4 separate regions of the Homo sapiens genome follow, and regions 2, 3 and 4 are each linked to region 1. The links are contacts of gene promoters, found by promoter capture Hi-C in human tissues and cell types (Jung and others, 2019). All regions are on one chromosome and are shown on one strand. The core of a region is centred on a gene start or on the middle of the fragment in contact, and the rest is flanking DNA. Distances in the headings are between cores, read along the strand shown. Region 1 holds the start of PRKAR2A (protein kinase cAMP-dependent type II regulatory subunit alpha). Region 2 holds the start of ZNF589 (zinc finger protein 589). Region 3 holds the start of AMT (aminomethyltransferase). Region 4 holds the start of SPINK8 (serine peptidase inhibitor Kazal type 8 (putative)).

Region 1 (3,680 bases), core at 876-3,375:
TCATGCCACTGCACTCCAGCCTGGGCAACAGAGCAAGACTCCATCTCAAAAACAAACCCAAACAAACAAAATGGCCAGGTGCAGTGCCTCACGCCTGTAATCCCAGAACTTTGGGAGGCTAAGGCGGGCAGATCCCTAGGTCAGGAGTTCGAGACCATCCTGGCCAACATGGCAAAACCCCGTCTCTACTGAAAATACAAAAATTAACTGGGCATGGTGGCAGGTGCCTATAATCCCAGCTACACAGGAGGCTGATGCAGGAGAATTGCTTGAACCTGGGAGGTGGAGGTTGCAGTGAGCTGAGATCGTGCCATTGCACTCCACCTTGGGCGACAAAAGGAAGACTCCATCTAAAAGAAAAAAAAAAAGCCAGGTGCGGTGGCTCACGCCTGTAATCCCAGCACTTTGGGAGGCTGAGGCGGGTGGATCACGAGGTCAAGAGATTGAGACCATCCTGGCCAACATGGAGAAACCCCATCTCTACTAAAAATAGAAAAAATTTGCTGGGTGTGGTGGTGCACGCCTGTAGTACCAGCTACTTGGGAGGCTGAGACAGGAGAATCGCTTGAACCTGGGAGGCAGAGCTTGCAGTGAGCAGAGGTCATGCCATTGCACTCCAGCCTGGGCGACAGAGTGAGACTCCTCTCAAAAAAAAATAGGGGCCTGGCAGAACGGTCGCCCTCATTCCTTCCAGATGCCTTTTGAATGCTCTGCTGGATGGGTGGTTGGCTGAGCCGTGGGGCATCTGAGAACAAGTCAGTAGACCTTCTCCAAGAGTATGCAATAAGGACTGAGCAGGAAAAAAGTTGGAGACTGCCTGTCCCCTCACAAAGTTGATGGTCTAACATTCTTCTCAGGGTCAAGAAACTTGTCCAGGGAGACACTGCTGTTTATAATCACAGGCCTGCTTAGCCTAGAACCTGGGCTGGCCTCTTCATCAGTGGGGATGAGGGCTCCTTGCTCCCAGCTGCTCAGCTCCCAGCAGCATTGAGCTCCTGGGTGTGTGCCAAGCCTGTATGGGAGGTGATAGGGAGGATTTTAATTAATACTGAGTAATTACCAGGCGGTGTTTAAGCATCCCAAATGCCCTCAGGTTCCCAAACCTACAGCTACTCTCTTCCTGGCTAGGCCTGTAAGGAGAGGGGGACTCTGCTCTATGCCCAGTGGGCCTTTGGTTAGCACGTAGGCTGTAGACTGGACATCCCAGGAAGGTCTCCACCTTTTTCAATACCCTTCCAGTTTGGTAGGAGGAGGAGGGCAATTTGGGAAATAGTCTGGCCTCTACAGTTCACCTATACCATCTTCCCAGGGGCAAAGGATAACAATGCCTGTGGTCTGCTCAACTTCATCAAGCAGTGTTGACCTAGGGCCCAGTGTAGAATGTGGGGAGAGGAATGGGCAGACCTAGATCTGGGGACCCTGGTGAAAGTGCTCCAGGAGGAACAGGCACAGAGGTCTTTGCTGCTTTTGGCCTTATTTCCCTTTCTCACTGTACACATTTGGCTGAGTGAACTCTTTCAAATTTATTTTTCTGTCTGTGGCTCTCAAATTATGATCTCATTCAAACGCCTACTTCCTACAAGGCCTTACCCGTTTGACATCTCAGAGACCTGACAGACTCCTGAGTTATTCCACCATTCCACCTGGCAGCCAAGGTGGTCTTGACTCCACCAGGCCTTTGCTCTTGTTGTATGTTCAGATGGCTTTCCTCCAGATCTTCCCCTGGGCGGGTCCTGCTCAGGCCTCGGGGCTAGCTTGAATGTCACGCCGGAAAGTGAGCCCTCTCTTGCCCTTCATCACAGCAGAATCACACTGATGTGCTCGTATGCTTCTGCTTCTCGCTGTGTCTCTGGTGCTTAGTAAGTGCTGGCCAAAAAGAGGCTCTTGGCATCAGCTGAAAGAATAATTTAAAGGTCTTCAGGACCAGGCGAGAGGCACTAATCGGTCCCCTTCATGGGTAGACCGTTCATTACCTAATTCCCTGGATTCCCTCCGTGAGCTGGCATCAGGAACACTCCACTGTCTCGACCCCCCGACAGCCCGAGGGGGCGGGTCATCTAGTGGCGCAAGCGCACTGAGGGCCGGTGCTAAGCGGGGACGCGCACGCCCGCGGTGGCGTGCGTCACAACCAGGACGCCTGCCCCGCCCGTCCAGCTCGCCTGCCCGTCGGTCCCCGCGGCGGCGGCGGCTGCCCAGTGACAGCGGCGGCGGTGCCAGGTCGGCCGTGGTAGCGTAGGGTTGCGCGGCCCGGAAACGCAGAGCCGGCCAAAGAGCGGCGCGACGTGAGCCGGGGCCGTGCGCGAAGAGACCTCGCGGGCGCGGAGCGAAAGGCCGGCGTGAGTGAGCGCGGAGACAGTGGCCGCCGGCGGCCCAACCCGTCTATCCCTTCGGCCGCCGCCGGCATGAGCCACATCCAGATCCCGCCGGGGCTCACGGAGCTGCTGCAGGGCTACACGGTGGAGGTGCTGCGACAGCAGCCGCCTGACCTCGTCGAATTCGCAGTGGAGTACTTCACCCGCCTGCGCGAGGCCCGCGCCCCAGCCTCAGTCCTGCCCGCCGCCACCCCACGCCAGAGCCTGGGCCACCCCCCGCCAGAACCCGGCCCGGACCGTGTCGCCGACGCCAAAGGGGACAGCGAGTCGGAGGAGGACGAGGACTTGGAAGGTAGGCTGTGGGCGGGGCCCTGGGGAGTGGTGCAGGAGGTCTCCAGAGGTCTAGAGGGGTGGCAGGGAGCCAGGTGTCGCGCCGCAGCCAAGCCGACCGCAGGCTGGGATTGGGAGCTCTGTAGCCGCGTTTCTAGCGTTTCCCTGAGACACCGGCGTGAGCCCGCGTGCGCCACTTCCAAATTGAGCTCCGCGATCCTGCGAGCCCTAGAGCGCACCGAGTGATTTGTCAGATCCAGCCTTGAAGGAAACGTGCGCGCTGTCGGCCCTGCTAGAGGATCCCTCGCCTTTGCTTAAGACCCTTCACCAGTTTTGGCTTCGAAGACAACAGCGTTCTCATCCAGTGACTTGTGTTTAATTGATAGGACAGTAAGTTTGTTTGGAAATAATAATTTTTTTTGAAAAGTTACTGTGAAAACTTTTAAGCATAGACAAAAGAGGAAAGGTGAGATGAATCCCTATATGCCATCACCTACATTTAACAGTTGCGTTTGTCACAAAGTTTCATCCATACCTTTTTTCTTTCTTTGCCGAAGTGTATTAAAGCAAATCTCTCAGGTCATTTCACCTCTGCTTACTTGAGTTTGTATTTCTTCAAACATGGTCCCTGGGAATATTCCTATTTTTAAAAACTTGGCCAAAACGATTGAATCAAATTTGGTGAGAGTAAATAATTATCTTGCCGGCCGGGGCAGTGGGCCCCTATAGTCTATACCAGCTACTCTGGAGGCTGAGGAGGAAATATCGCTTGAATCCAAGAGTTCGAGACCAGCCTGGGCAAAATAGACACCCTACCTCATTTTTGAAAACGAAAAACCTGGCCGGGCGTGGTGGGTCACGCCTGTAGTCCCAGCACTTTGGGAGGCCGAGGCGGGTGGATCACCTGAGGTCAGGAGTTCGAGACCAGCCTGGCCAACATGGCGAAACCCCGTCTCTACTAAAAATACAAAAATTAGCCGGGCGTGGTGGCGGGCGTCTGTAGTCCCAGCTACTTGGGAGGCTGAGGCAGGGAGAATC
Region 2 (3,680 bases), core at 343-2,842, 610 kb after region 1:
CACAACAGCAGACCACTAGTCGTAACAAAGACCGTGTGGCCTACAAAGCCTGAAACATTTACCACCTGGCCCTTAAAAGAAAACGTTTGCAAGACCAGGTGCAGTGGCTCACGCCTATAATCCTAGCACTTTGGGAGACCGAGGCGGGAGGATCCCTTGAGCCCAGGAGTTGGAGACCAGCCTGGGCAACATAGGGAGACCCTGTTTCTAAAAAAACCAAACAGAAAAAAATTTGCCCAGCCCTGTTCTAGACTGTTCCTGTTGTTACATCCAAAGTCATTTGGGGCCGGGTGTGGTAGCTCCCACCTGTAATCCCAACACTTTGGGAGGCCGAGGCAGGTGGATCATCTGGGGTCAGGAGTTCAAGACCGGCCTGGCCAACATGATGAAACCCCGCCTCTACTAAAAATACAAAAAAATAGCCGGGCGTGGTGGCGTGTCCCTGTAATTCCAGCCGCTTGGTAGGCTGAGGCAGGAGAATCGCTGGAACCTGGGAGAAAGAGGTTGCAGTGAGCAGAGATCGCCCACTGCACTCCAGCCTGGGCTACAGAGCAAGACTCTGTCTCCAAAAAAAAAGTCTTTTGGGCCGGGTGGGGTGGCTAACACCTGTAATCCCAACATTGTGGGAGGCCAAGGTGGGTGGATTGCTTGAGGCCAGGAGTTCGAGACCAGCCTGGCAAATATGGCGAAATCCCCTCTCTACTAAAAATACAACAGCCGGGGTGGTGAGGCGCCGCCTGTAATCCCAGCTACTCCGGAAGCTGAGGCACGAGAATCACTTGAGCCTGGGAAAGCGGAGGCTGCAGTGAGCCTAGATCCCGCCACTGCACTCCGGACCGACTCAAAAAATATAAAAATATAATATACTCCGGGCGCGGTGGCTCACGCCTGTAATCCCAGCACTTTGGGAGGCCGAGGTGGGCGGATCACGAGGTCTGGAGTTCAAAACCAGCCTGGCCAACATGGTGAAATCCCCGTCTCTACTAAAAATACAAAAATTAGCCAGGCGTGGTGGAGGGCGCCTGTAATCCCAGCTGCTCGGCAGGCTGAGGCAGAGAACTGCTTGAACCCGGGAGACGGAGATTGCAGTGAACGGAGATCGCGCCACTGCACTCCAGCCTGGGCGACAGAGCGAGACTCCGTCTCAAAATAAATATGATATAATATAATAATACAAAATGCTGTTCTTCAGTTGCACTCCACACATCTCAAATGCTCAGCAGCCATTTATGGCCAATGACTGCCGGAGTGCACAAGTGCAGGATGCCCGGTGAAGAGTCGTGGAGTGAGCACCGTGGAGACTGTACGGGACACCTAGGGAGGAACCTGGCCCCCCAGGGGAGTAAGAGCCGCTGTAGGGGTAGTCAGCGCCTCACACAGCTCGCACCCCACGCGCATCCCTGGTGGATACGGCCGACGCCTGCGCGGCGCCTGCGGCTGGAGCACCGAATGGGGGAGGCGATCTCGCGGCCCCGACTCACCTTCCGCAGTCCAGCCCAGTAGCTGCTCCCGCGGGGCCCACATCTGCGCGCGCACGCACGCACGAAGCAAACGAGGTAGCAGCACCGTGTGTGAAACGGATTAGAATGCGCACCGCGGGCCACTGGCGGCGCCAGAAGAAAGAAGCAGGACTGGGTGAAGTGCGTCACCGCGCGGCGCGCAGCCTGCCGGGAAGCGTAGTTCTCGGGGCGAAATGCGGCTTGTGCAGGGCGAGAGAAAATGCTGAGGCGCACTTTGACCTTCTAGGTCCCCCTCGGCCGCAATATTTGGGGTTGTGCTTACCACAGGTACCCATAAGCAAAATATAGTGTTGTTTTCCATGGTTGTAAACATTATATAAATACACTTACAATGCCTGCTACTAGCTCTTTTGCGCAGTTCTATAATGACACGTGTTGACCTGTTCATTGTGTGTTCACTGCTGTGTGGTATCTAATGTAGAAATACACCAGGACTCCAATTGGACAGACTCATGCGCATCCATGGAGAGCTTCTCAAGGACAGTGGTTCGCAAACTTGTTGTTGTTAAAATCCTTTTACACTCTTAAAAATTACTGAGGACCCCAAAGAGCTTTTGAAACCGCCTTTGCAAAATTATACCTAAGGAAATTATGATGTTATAGGAGTTATTAAGAAATTATTTTAAGCAGATAGAGAAGGAAAGGGGTCCTTGGGAAGTTTTTGTTTCTTTTAAAGCAGCTCCAGAAAGGTTTCTTGTCTAGCAGGAAAGCCTGGGCTCCTAGAGCAGGATGGCAAGCTTTGATATGGAAATACAGGCCATTAGAAACTGGACGCACCCAAACATGGCGATTCCCGCCGTCCTTTTCTTTGCCCTGACATGTGCCTGGCAACATGGCCACCCCCCACATATTCCCACGTGTGTAGAACTTCATGGAGCCCTACATTTGCATATTAAAAAGCTAGGGTGGGAGGGCCAGGTTTTTGGCTGCCACATAAATGACACATCTGATCAAACTAATCCCCTGAGCCCTATGGAAACCAGACACCGCCTCCTCCAGCATCCTCAGATAAGCAGCCACTTTTCCGCACACGGCGCTTTCTCTTTGTTGGAATCCCCGCTCCCTCTGTCTCTGTATGGGGGAGCTGTTTTCGTCTTCCTTCCTTCTTTCTTGCCTATTAAACTTTTCGCTCCTTAAAACCACTCCACGTGTGTCTGTGTTATTAAGCCTATCAGAGACCAAGGACCCTGGTGTTCCTCCAGTCATCAGAGCCTTATCAATGACAGTAAAAGATATCAGATCTAACCCACCTCATCTTCCTTTCAACCTCTAAACTGTCTTTGTCCACTTCTGGGCATAGGCCAAAGTAGCCTTGGGAAGGAATTCAGTTTATAGCTTAAATAATAGCCCTTCCCAAGGGCTAAACTGTTCTTGTAAAATGAATGAAAGGCCACCAGCCACCAAATTAGGATGAGAAGGGCTGGAATTCTAAATATTACCAGCCATTATTCCAGAGGCCCTAAGACGCACAACTTCCCCAATTACTCTTTTGAAGCACAACTTCCCCAATTACTCTTTTTTTTTTTTTAGGGAAAAGAACACGGAGTCTCACTCTGTCTACCATGCTGGAGTGCAGTGGTGCCATCTCGGCTCACTGCAACCTCCCTCTCCTGGGTTCAAGCGATTCTCCTGCCTCAACCTCCTGAGTAGCCGGGATTACAAGCACGCACCACCATACCCCGCTAATATTTTTGGATTCTTTTTTTTTTTGGTTGGTTTTTTTTTTTTTTTTTTTTTTTTTTTTGAGACGGAGTCTCGCTCTGTCGCCCAGGCCGGACTGCGGACTGCAGTGGCGCAATCTCGGCTCACTGCAAGCTCCGCTTCCCGGGTTCACGCCATTCTCCTGCCTCAGCCTCCCCAGTAGCTGGGACTACAGGCGCCCGCCACCGCGCCCGGCTAATTTTTTGTATTTTTAGTAGAGACGGGGTTTCACCTTGTTAGCCAGGATGGTCTCGATCTCCTGACCTCATGATCCACCCGCCTCGGCCTCCCAAAGTGCTGGGATTACAGGCGTGAGCCACCGCGCCCGGCCAAGGTTGGTTTTTTTTTTTTTTTTTTTTTGAGCCCAGGCTGGAGTGCAATGGTGCGATCTCGGCTCACTGCAACCTCCTCCTCCCGAGTTCAAGCAATTATCCTGCCTCGGCCTCCGGAGTAACTGGA
Region 3 (3,680 bases), core at 692-3,191, 570 kb before region 1:
CTTGAGGAAGAAACAGAAACCTTATTTCTTCCTGTGTGTCCCCTAGTGGTTTTCTTTCCATTTGTGTTATGCCACAGAGAGAAATTTCCTGTCTGAACTCTTCTGCTGCCTGCCTAGGAAGGAAACCTGAAGATTTGGGCAGCCTGAGTCTCTTGGTTTCTGAGCTGGCTCCTGAATATATGTTCAAGTGGGTGTGCCCATAGGGCCTGGGCACGTGTCTCTAGCAAAACCAGGGCCTGAGCATAAGAACTGGGACCCTTCTAGGCAGGGTGCAGTGGCTCACGCCTGTAATCCCAGCACTTTGGGAGGCCCAGGCAGGCGGATCACCTGAGGTCAGGAGTTCAAGACCAGCCTGACCAACCTGGAGAAACCCCGTCTCTACTAAAAATACAAAAAATTAGCTGGGCGTGGTGGTAGGCACCTGTAATCCCAGCTACTTGGGAGGCTGAGGCAGGAGAATCTCTTGAACCCGGGAAGTGGAGGTTGCGGACCTGAGATCATGCCATTGCACTCCAGCCTGGGCAAGAAGAGCGAAACTCCATCTTAAACAAACAAACAAAAAAAAAAGAACTGGGACCCTTCTGCCATCTGACATAGCCCAAAGCACATCTCTATCCTTTCTCCCAGTTGCCCCTCTCCTTTTTTGTTGTTTTTTTTGAGGTTGAGTTTTGCTCTTGTTGCCCAGGCTGGAGTGCAATAGTGCAATCTTGGCTAACTGCAACCTCCGCCTCCCAGGTTCAAGCAATTCTCCTGCCTCAGTCTCCCGAGTAGCTGGGATTACAGTCATGCATCACCATGCCTGGCTAATTTTGTATTTGTAGTAGAGATGGGGTTTCTCCATGTTGGTCAGGCTGGTCTCAAACACCTGACCTCAGGTGATCTGCCTGCCTTGGCCTTCCAAAGTGCTGGGATTACAGGCATGAGCCACCGCGCCCGCCCTGCCCCTTTCCAAGAGATATGCTCAGCATAATGAGAGATCAACCGTGGTGGGGAGTGGGTCCAAGTAAGGGTTCTCATTGTTGCCTTTTAAGAGGCCTAAGTCCTGCATTAACTCAGTCCAACCATTAAGTGATGCAGGCTGCTCTTCCCTCATGTGAGAAAAACCTGTTTCCCTCTGGTTCTTCCTGGCTTTGCACCTGGTGGCTATTACAAAGCAGTACTGCAGTATGTCTTGGACCTGGAAAGTTGGACATGTGTGTGGCTCAACAGTTTTCTCGGGGGAGTTCAGTGACCTTTTGGTGGCCACCCTCTGTTCTCACCTGTGAGTTCTTGCAGGTGGCGACTTCATCTGCAAGGTCACTTACATAGCCCCACTCAGCTGCTTCGGAAAGCGTGACGAAGCAGTAGTCCTCAGTGTGTGTGTAAGTGAAGAGGACCTTGTGGTAGCAGGGACCATGCTTCATTCGTGGCTGTGTCCCCATCTGAGGGCCTGGTATGCAGTAAGATCAATAAATACTTGTGGAATGCATGACTGCTGGCTGCCTGTGTCTGCCTGGTGGGAGAGCTGTGGAACTAGGGGTCCACATGAGGACAGACTACTGTGGTGCTGCCTACCTGCCAGGCTGGCCCACCTTCCCCACCCCCACTTGACCTTACTCTCTTGAGGTCCTAAAGGTATGATTCAGACCTTTCAGCCCTTTCCAGAACTTTGACCCTCTGGAGACAGGGCGGTTCTGCAGGGGGCGGTCTAGCCCCTAGCTTTGTTCTGGGCAGCCCAATCAGCTCTGGATTGCCCGAGCTGCCCTGAAGAGTCAGCCGAAAGAGCTGGAGGCTTCTTCCCTGTGGTTGCGGGTTCCTGCATTCTCTGCTCTAAATCCCAGCCTGCCCTTGGGGCTGCCCACGCCCCCTTCAGATCCTTTGCTCCGGAGAGAGACCTGTCCGAGCAGAGGCCTGGACTACATCTCCCGGCGTGCCTGGCAGTGTGGTGGCCTCTGTGCGCCGTCTGCACTCGTTGCAGGCGACGATGCAGAGGGCTGTAAGTGTGGTGGCCCGTCTGGGCTTTCGCCTGCAGGCATTCCCCCCGGCCTTGTGTCGTCCACTTAGTTGCGCACAGGTGGGATAGAGGGTGCTGATCTTGGAGGGTGGGGGAGGGAAGCGGCTGGGGGCTAGGGCCCTGGTGGCACTAAGCCCAGCCGCCCACAGGAGGTGCTCCGCAGGACACCGCTCTATGACTTCCACCTGGCCCACGGCGGGAAAATGGTGGCGTTTGCGGGTTGGAGTCTGCCAGTGCAGTACCGGGACAGTCACACTGACTCGCACCTGCACACACGCCAGCACTGCTCGCTCTTTGACGTGTCTCATATGCTGCAGGTGAGCCAGGGGAGCACACTGGCCATCTGATCAGGCCTTCCTCCCTGTTTACAGTGGTCCACTCCTTGGCTTTGTTTGCTGTGAACTGGATTCCAAGGACAGCCTTCTCAGAAGAGCTAGAGGTCATGGGGGTGTCATGGATAGGTCAATGGCCCCAAGGAAATGAGCTCAGAGGGTCTCATCATCTCATCCTTCTAGCTTGCCCCCATTAAATGGTGTGCCTTAATGTCCCGGGTTTTCCAGGGCTGACACCCACTCTCATGTATTGGGCTGGATGTTGGTTTGAAAAGGGGTTATTTCAGGAAGGTGCTAGGTCCTGTCCAGTTCCCTGGCAGTCCCCCCACACAGAGTGACTGGGGGAGGTCAGGAAATCAGAAGGTGGTCCTTTGCCACGTGTAGAACCAAAAGACTGGTTAGTCACTTTGGGTGGGCTGGACTGCACTGTGGATGGCAGGGAGGATGCATCCTTGCTTAGTAGCCTTTTGGATTGTAGCTGTTGCAATGGCCTGAGGCTTTCAATCTCTTCCCCAGACCAAGATACTTGGTAGTGACCGGGTGAAGCTGATGGAGAGTCTAGTGGTTGGAGACATTGCAGAGCTAAGACCAAACCAGGTGGGCCCTTTTATTTCTGCTCTATGAGTTTTCTTAGTCATGAGCCAGCAAATGGGCTGAGTCCCTACCTCAGGCTTAGGGGCACAGAGATGAGTCAAACACAGCTTCTCAGGGCTTGCAGTCTTGGACAGAATCCCTGAGTCATTTCCAGAGACACAGACATTTGTAGGGAGGGGAATATCCCAGTCTTACTACATCAGGCTAGGAGGCCAGAAACCAAGGTTAATATGCTGCTCTCTGGCCATCCCTTCTGCTTAACCCCTCTCTATTCAACATGTGGTCCCTGGCCAGGCGACGTGACTCAAACACCTGTAATCCTGGCACTTGGGGAGGCCAAGGCGGGTGGATCACCTGAGGTCAGGAGTTCGAGACCAGCCTGGCCAACATGGCAAAACCTCGTTTCTACTAAAAACACAAAAATTAGCCGGGCGTGGTGGCGCGTGCTTGTAGTCCCAGCTACTCGGGAGGCTGAGGTTGCAGCAAGCTGAGGTTGCACCACTGCACTCTGGCCTGGGCAACAGAGTGAGACTCAGTCTAAAAAGAAAAATAACAACAACAAAGTGTGGTCTCTAAACCAGCATCTTTGGAGCTTGTTAGGAATATAGTCTCAGGCACTGCTGCAGACCTGCTGAATCAGAACCTTCATTTTAACAAGATCCCCAGGTGATTCATGTGACCCCCTCAACCTCAGGCTTTTTGTCCATCCAGTGGGGAGGCTAAGGAAGTTTTTTGGGGGCATTGCTATGGAGTACTTAGGA
Region 4 (3,680 bases), core at 400-2,899, 510 kb after region 1:
AAAGTGTAGCCCCAAAAATTCTCCTTACCTCTGAATCTACTTCCTCCAATCCCTGCCTCCTAGGTACTAATGCTTCAGACTTTCATTTCCTCTCCCAAGTATTAGAGCAAGTTGTATCTCCAAAGAGATCTAAGGAAGCTCTATGCTGTGGCCTTAGATATCTAGGCTATGAACCCAGGGAGTCTTGCCCCTGGTGTCCCTCCCAATTTAGGTATATAGCTGTCAACATGGGCTGTTATGTGGGACCCATTCCCCACCACCCTTGCCAGGGCCCCAAGTTTGTAAATAGCTAGGAAGATCGCTCTCCCATTGTGTAAGATGCTCTCCTCCCCTAATTTCTACCCAGTTTACTACCCCCTGCAATACAATCTCCAAGCCTTGGCTCCTTGGCCAGGCCCTTAGAACTGATAACCCAGTATTTTAACAACTGGAACTGAGTCTACAACAACATAATAGATCAGGATGAAAACGAATTTGAGTAAATTAAAGGGAGGCACATGTTCCTATAGTGGCAAACTGGGGCAACAAGTGAACGTCCTTCCACTGCGTTTCCAAAATCCATCTAAAAAAAGACAGACAGAGAGAGGAAGAGGCAGAAAGTCAAAGAGAGAAAGAAAGAAAAAAGGGAAAGAGAGAGGTAGTAAAGAAAAAACAGTGTACCCTATTCCTTTAAAAGCCAAGGTAAATTTAGAACCTATAATTGATAATTAAAGGTCTTCTCCACGACCCTATAATACTCCAATACTACCTTGTTGTCAGTGTAAACAAGGGCGTAGCCCGAAAACACTGAGACCACTGACAACCCATAGCCTTCCTATCAAAAATCCTGAACCCAGTAACCCGTGGATGGCCCAAATGCATTCAATCTGTAGTGGCAACTGCTTTGCTAACAGAATAAAGTAGAAAAATAACCTTTAGAGGAAACCTCATTGTGAGCACACCTCACCAGTTCAGAACAATCCTAAGACCAAAAAAAAAAAAAAAAAAAGGTAGCTTACTAGCTCAAAATTCTTAAAGTATGGGGCTATTCTGTTAGAAAAAGGTGATTTAACACCAACCACTGATAATTCCCTTAACCCAGCAGATTTCCTAACAGGGGATTTAAATCTTAATTGCCATGCAAAGGTCCAACCAGACCTAGGAGGAACTTCCTTTAGGATAGGACGATAGATGGTTCCTCCCAGGCGATTGAGGAAAAAACCACAATGGGTATTCAGTAATTGATAAGGAAACTCTTGTGGAAGCAGAGTTAGGAGAATTGCCTCATAATTGGTCTGCACAAACTGCGAGCTGTTTGCACTCAGCCAAGCCTTAAAGTACTTACAAAAAGAGCAAGCCCATCTTTTTCTCCTCGCTCTCCTTCTCGTAGGAAAAAGGCACATAGGATAAACAGGAGCCATCTCTCATATTTCGTACCCAAAAGGACTTAATCCAGGGCAACAAAATCTTAAGTTCGATAATTAAGGCATATTCCTACAAAGGAAAAGGACAAAGGCCCTAGTGGGCAAAAACTCTATCTCAATCCTGACTCAAAAGGTTACCTACACCCTCTCTGAAACGAATTTGCATAAGAACTGTTGTTTATGAAAATGCATCTTGATGGGGCAACTGGGTTGTTATGAAATACTCAGAAACCCAGCCCAGCTCTAGAACTCACTCCTGAGTGCAAAGGCAATGTCAGGCACGCTGGTAAAGGACCACTAGAATCCAGCAGCCCAGACCCCTTTCTTTGTGGTCAAGAAGGGCAGGAAAACAGGTGCAGGACTGCTACATCGGTGAGTGTAACTAATCTGATAAGCAGAGGTCCGTGGGTGGTTACGCACCCTGAAAAGGAATAAGCATTAGGACCACAGAGGACGCTCTAGGACTAATGCTCATCAGAAAATGACTAGGGGTGCTGGCATCCCTATGTTCTTTTTAAACGTTCCCCCCTCCCAGGCAAAAACGCCCCTAAGATGTATTCTAGAGAATTAGGACCAATTTGACCCTCAGATGCTAAGAAAGAAACGACTTATATTCTTCTGCAGTACCCCTGGCCACAATATCCTCTTCAAGAGGGAGAAACATGCCCTCCAAGGGAAGTATAAATTATAACACCATCTTACAGCTAGACTTCTTTTGTAGAAAATAGGGCAAATGGAGCGAAGTGCCATATGTGCAAACTTTCTTTTCATTAAGAGACAACTCACAATTATGTTAAAAGTGTGATTTATGCCCTACAGGAAGCCCTCAGAATCTACCCCCCTGCCCCGGCGTTCCCCCGGCTCCTTCCCCAACTAATAATGACCCCCCTTCAACACAAACGGTGCCAAAGGAGATAGAGAAAGGGGTAAACAATGAACCAAAGAGTGCCAATATTCCCAGATTATGCCCCCTTGAAGTGGTGGGAGGAGGAGAATTCAGCCCAGAGTGTGTGTACCTTTTTCCCTCTCAGACTTGAAGCAAATTAAAATAGACCTAGGTAAATTCTCAAATAACCCTGATGGCTATATTGATGTTTTACAAGGGTTAGGACAATCCTTTGATCTGACATGGAGAGACATAATGTTACTGCTAGATCAGATACTAACCCCAAATGAGAGAAGTGCCGCTATAACTGCAGCCCAAGAGTTTGGCAATCTCTGGTATCTCAGTCAGGTCAATGATAGGATGACAACAGAGGAAAGAGAACGATTCCCCACAGGCCAGCAGGCAGTTCCCAGTGTAGACCCTCAATGGGACGCAGAATCAGAATGTGGAGATTGGTGCCGCAGACATTTGCTAACTTGCATGCTAGAAGGACTAAGAAAAACTAGGAAGAAGCCTATGAATTATTCAATGATGCCCACTATAACACAGGGAAAGGAAGAAAATCCTACTGCCTTTCTGGAGAGACTAAGGGAGGCATTGAGGAAGCATACCTCTCTGTCATCTGGATCTATTGAAGGCCAACTAATCTTAAAGGGTAAGTTTATCACTCAGCTGCAGACATTAGAAAAAAACTTCAAAATCCGCCTTAGGCCTGGAACAAAACTTAAACTAAGAACTTGGCCTCAGTTTTTATAATAGAGATCAGAAGGAGCAGGCAGAACTGGACAAACGGGATAAAAAGAAGGCCACCGCTTTAGTCATGGCCTTCAGGCAAGTGGACTTTGGAGGCTCTGGAAAAGTGAAAGGCTGGGCAAATCGAATGCCTAATAGGGATTTGATTCCAGTGCGGTCTACAAGGACACTTTAAAAAAGATTGTCCGAATAGAAATAAGCCACCCCCTCATCCATGCCCCTTATTTCAAGGGTATCACTGGAAGGCCCACTGCCCCAGGGGATGAAGGTCCTCTGAGTCAGAAGCCACTAACCAGATGATCCAGCAGCAGGACTGAGGGTGCCTGGGGCAAGCGCCAGCCCCTGGCATCACCCTCCCCAGGTATGCTTGACCACTGAGGGCCAGGAGGTTAACTGTCTGCTGGACACTAGCGCGGCCTTCTCAGTCTTACTCTCCTGTCCCAGACAACTGTCCTCCAGATCTGTCACTATCCGAGGGGTCCTAGGACAGGCAGTCACTAGATACTTCTCCCAGACACTAAGTTGTGACTAGGGAACTTTACCATTTTCACATACCTTTCTAATTATGCCTGAAAGCCCCATTCCCTTGTTAGGGAGAGACATTCTAGCAAAAACAGGGGCCATTATACACTAGAATT

What was found. The method cuts DNA at HindIII sites, captures the fragments that hold promoters and counts their contacts. A contact is called where the count stands out against the background at its distance.
Region 2: a contact is called between the fragment with the promoter of ZNF589 here and the fragment with the promoter of PRKAR2A in region 1, in 1 of the 25 tissues and cell types used here (liver).
Region 3: a contact is called between the fragment with the promoter of AMT here and the fragment with the promoter of PRKAR2A in region 1, in 1 of the 25 tissues and cell types used here (bladder).
Region 4: a contact is called between the fragment with the promoter of SPINK8 here and the fragment with the promoter of PRKAR2A in region 1, in 1 of the 25 tissues and cell types used here (mesenchymal stem cells).

What each region holds. Positions count from the first base shown.
Region 1 is chr3:48,846,319-48,849,998 of GRCh38, reverse strand. PRKAR2A (protein kinase cAMP-dependent type II regulatory subunit alpha) reads left to right here and starts at 2,125. Exons shown (of 11, transcript NM_004157.4): 1 at 2,125-2,664. The coding sequence starts at 2,403. It overlaps PRKAR2A-AS1 (PRKAR2A antisense RNA 1), which reads right to left and starts at 2,062. Exons shown (of 3, transcript NR_109997.1): 1 at 1,974-2,062; 2 at 1,591-1,894; 3 at 1-1,012. RefSeq lists a silencer at 1,983-2,312. The HindIII fragment of the contact is 13,078 bases long and covers 1-3,680 here.
Region 2 is chr3:48,239,016-48,242,695 of GRCh38, reverse strand. It overlaps ZNF589 (zinc finger protein 589), which reads right to left and starts at 1,592. Exons shown (of 4, transcript NM_016089.3): 1 at 1,482-1,592. The coding sequence starts at 1,524. RefSeq lists enhancers at 1,423-1,717, 908-1,825, 2,143-2,437. The HindIII fragment of the contact is 6,944 bases long and covers 1-3,680 here.
Region 3 is chr3:49,420,734-49,424,413 of GRCh38, reverse strand. AMT (aminomethyltransferase) reads left to right here and starts at 1,941. Exons shown (of 9, transcript NM_000481.4): 1 at 1,941-2,053; 2 at 2,143-2,310; 3 at 2,842-2,922. The coding sequence starts at 1,964. It overlaps NICN1 (nicolin 1, tubulin polyglutamylase complex subunit), which reads left to right. Exons shown (of 6, transcript NM_032316.3): 6 at 1-2,081. RefSeq lists enhancers at 1,560-2,313, 2,314-3,066. The HindIII fragment of the contact is 4,289 bases long and covers 1,144-3,680 here.
Region 4 is chr3:48,331,630-48,335,309 of GRCh38, reverse strand. SPINK8 (serine peptidase inhibitor Kazal type 8 (putative)) reads left to right here and starts at 1,649. Exons shown (of 8, transcript NM_001080525.3): 1 at 1,649-1,775; 2 at 2,839-2,944. RefSeq lists a silencer at 1,104-1,304. The HindIII fragment of the contact is 10,965 bases long and covers 1-3,680 here.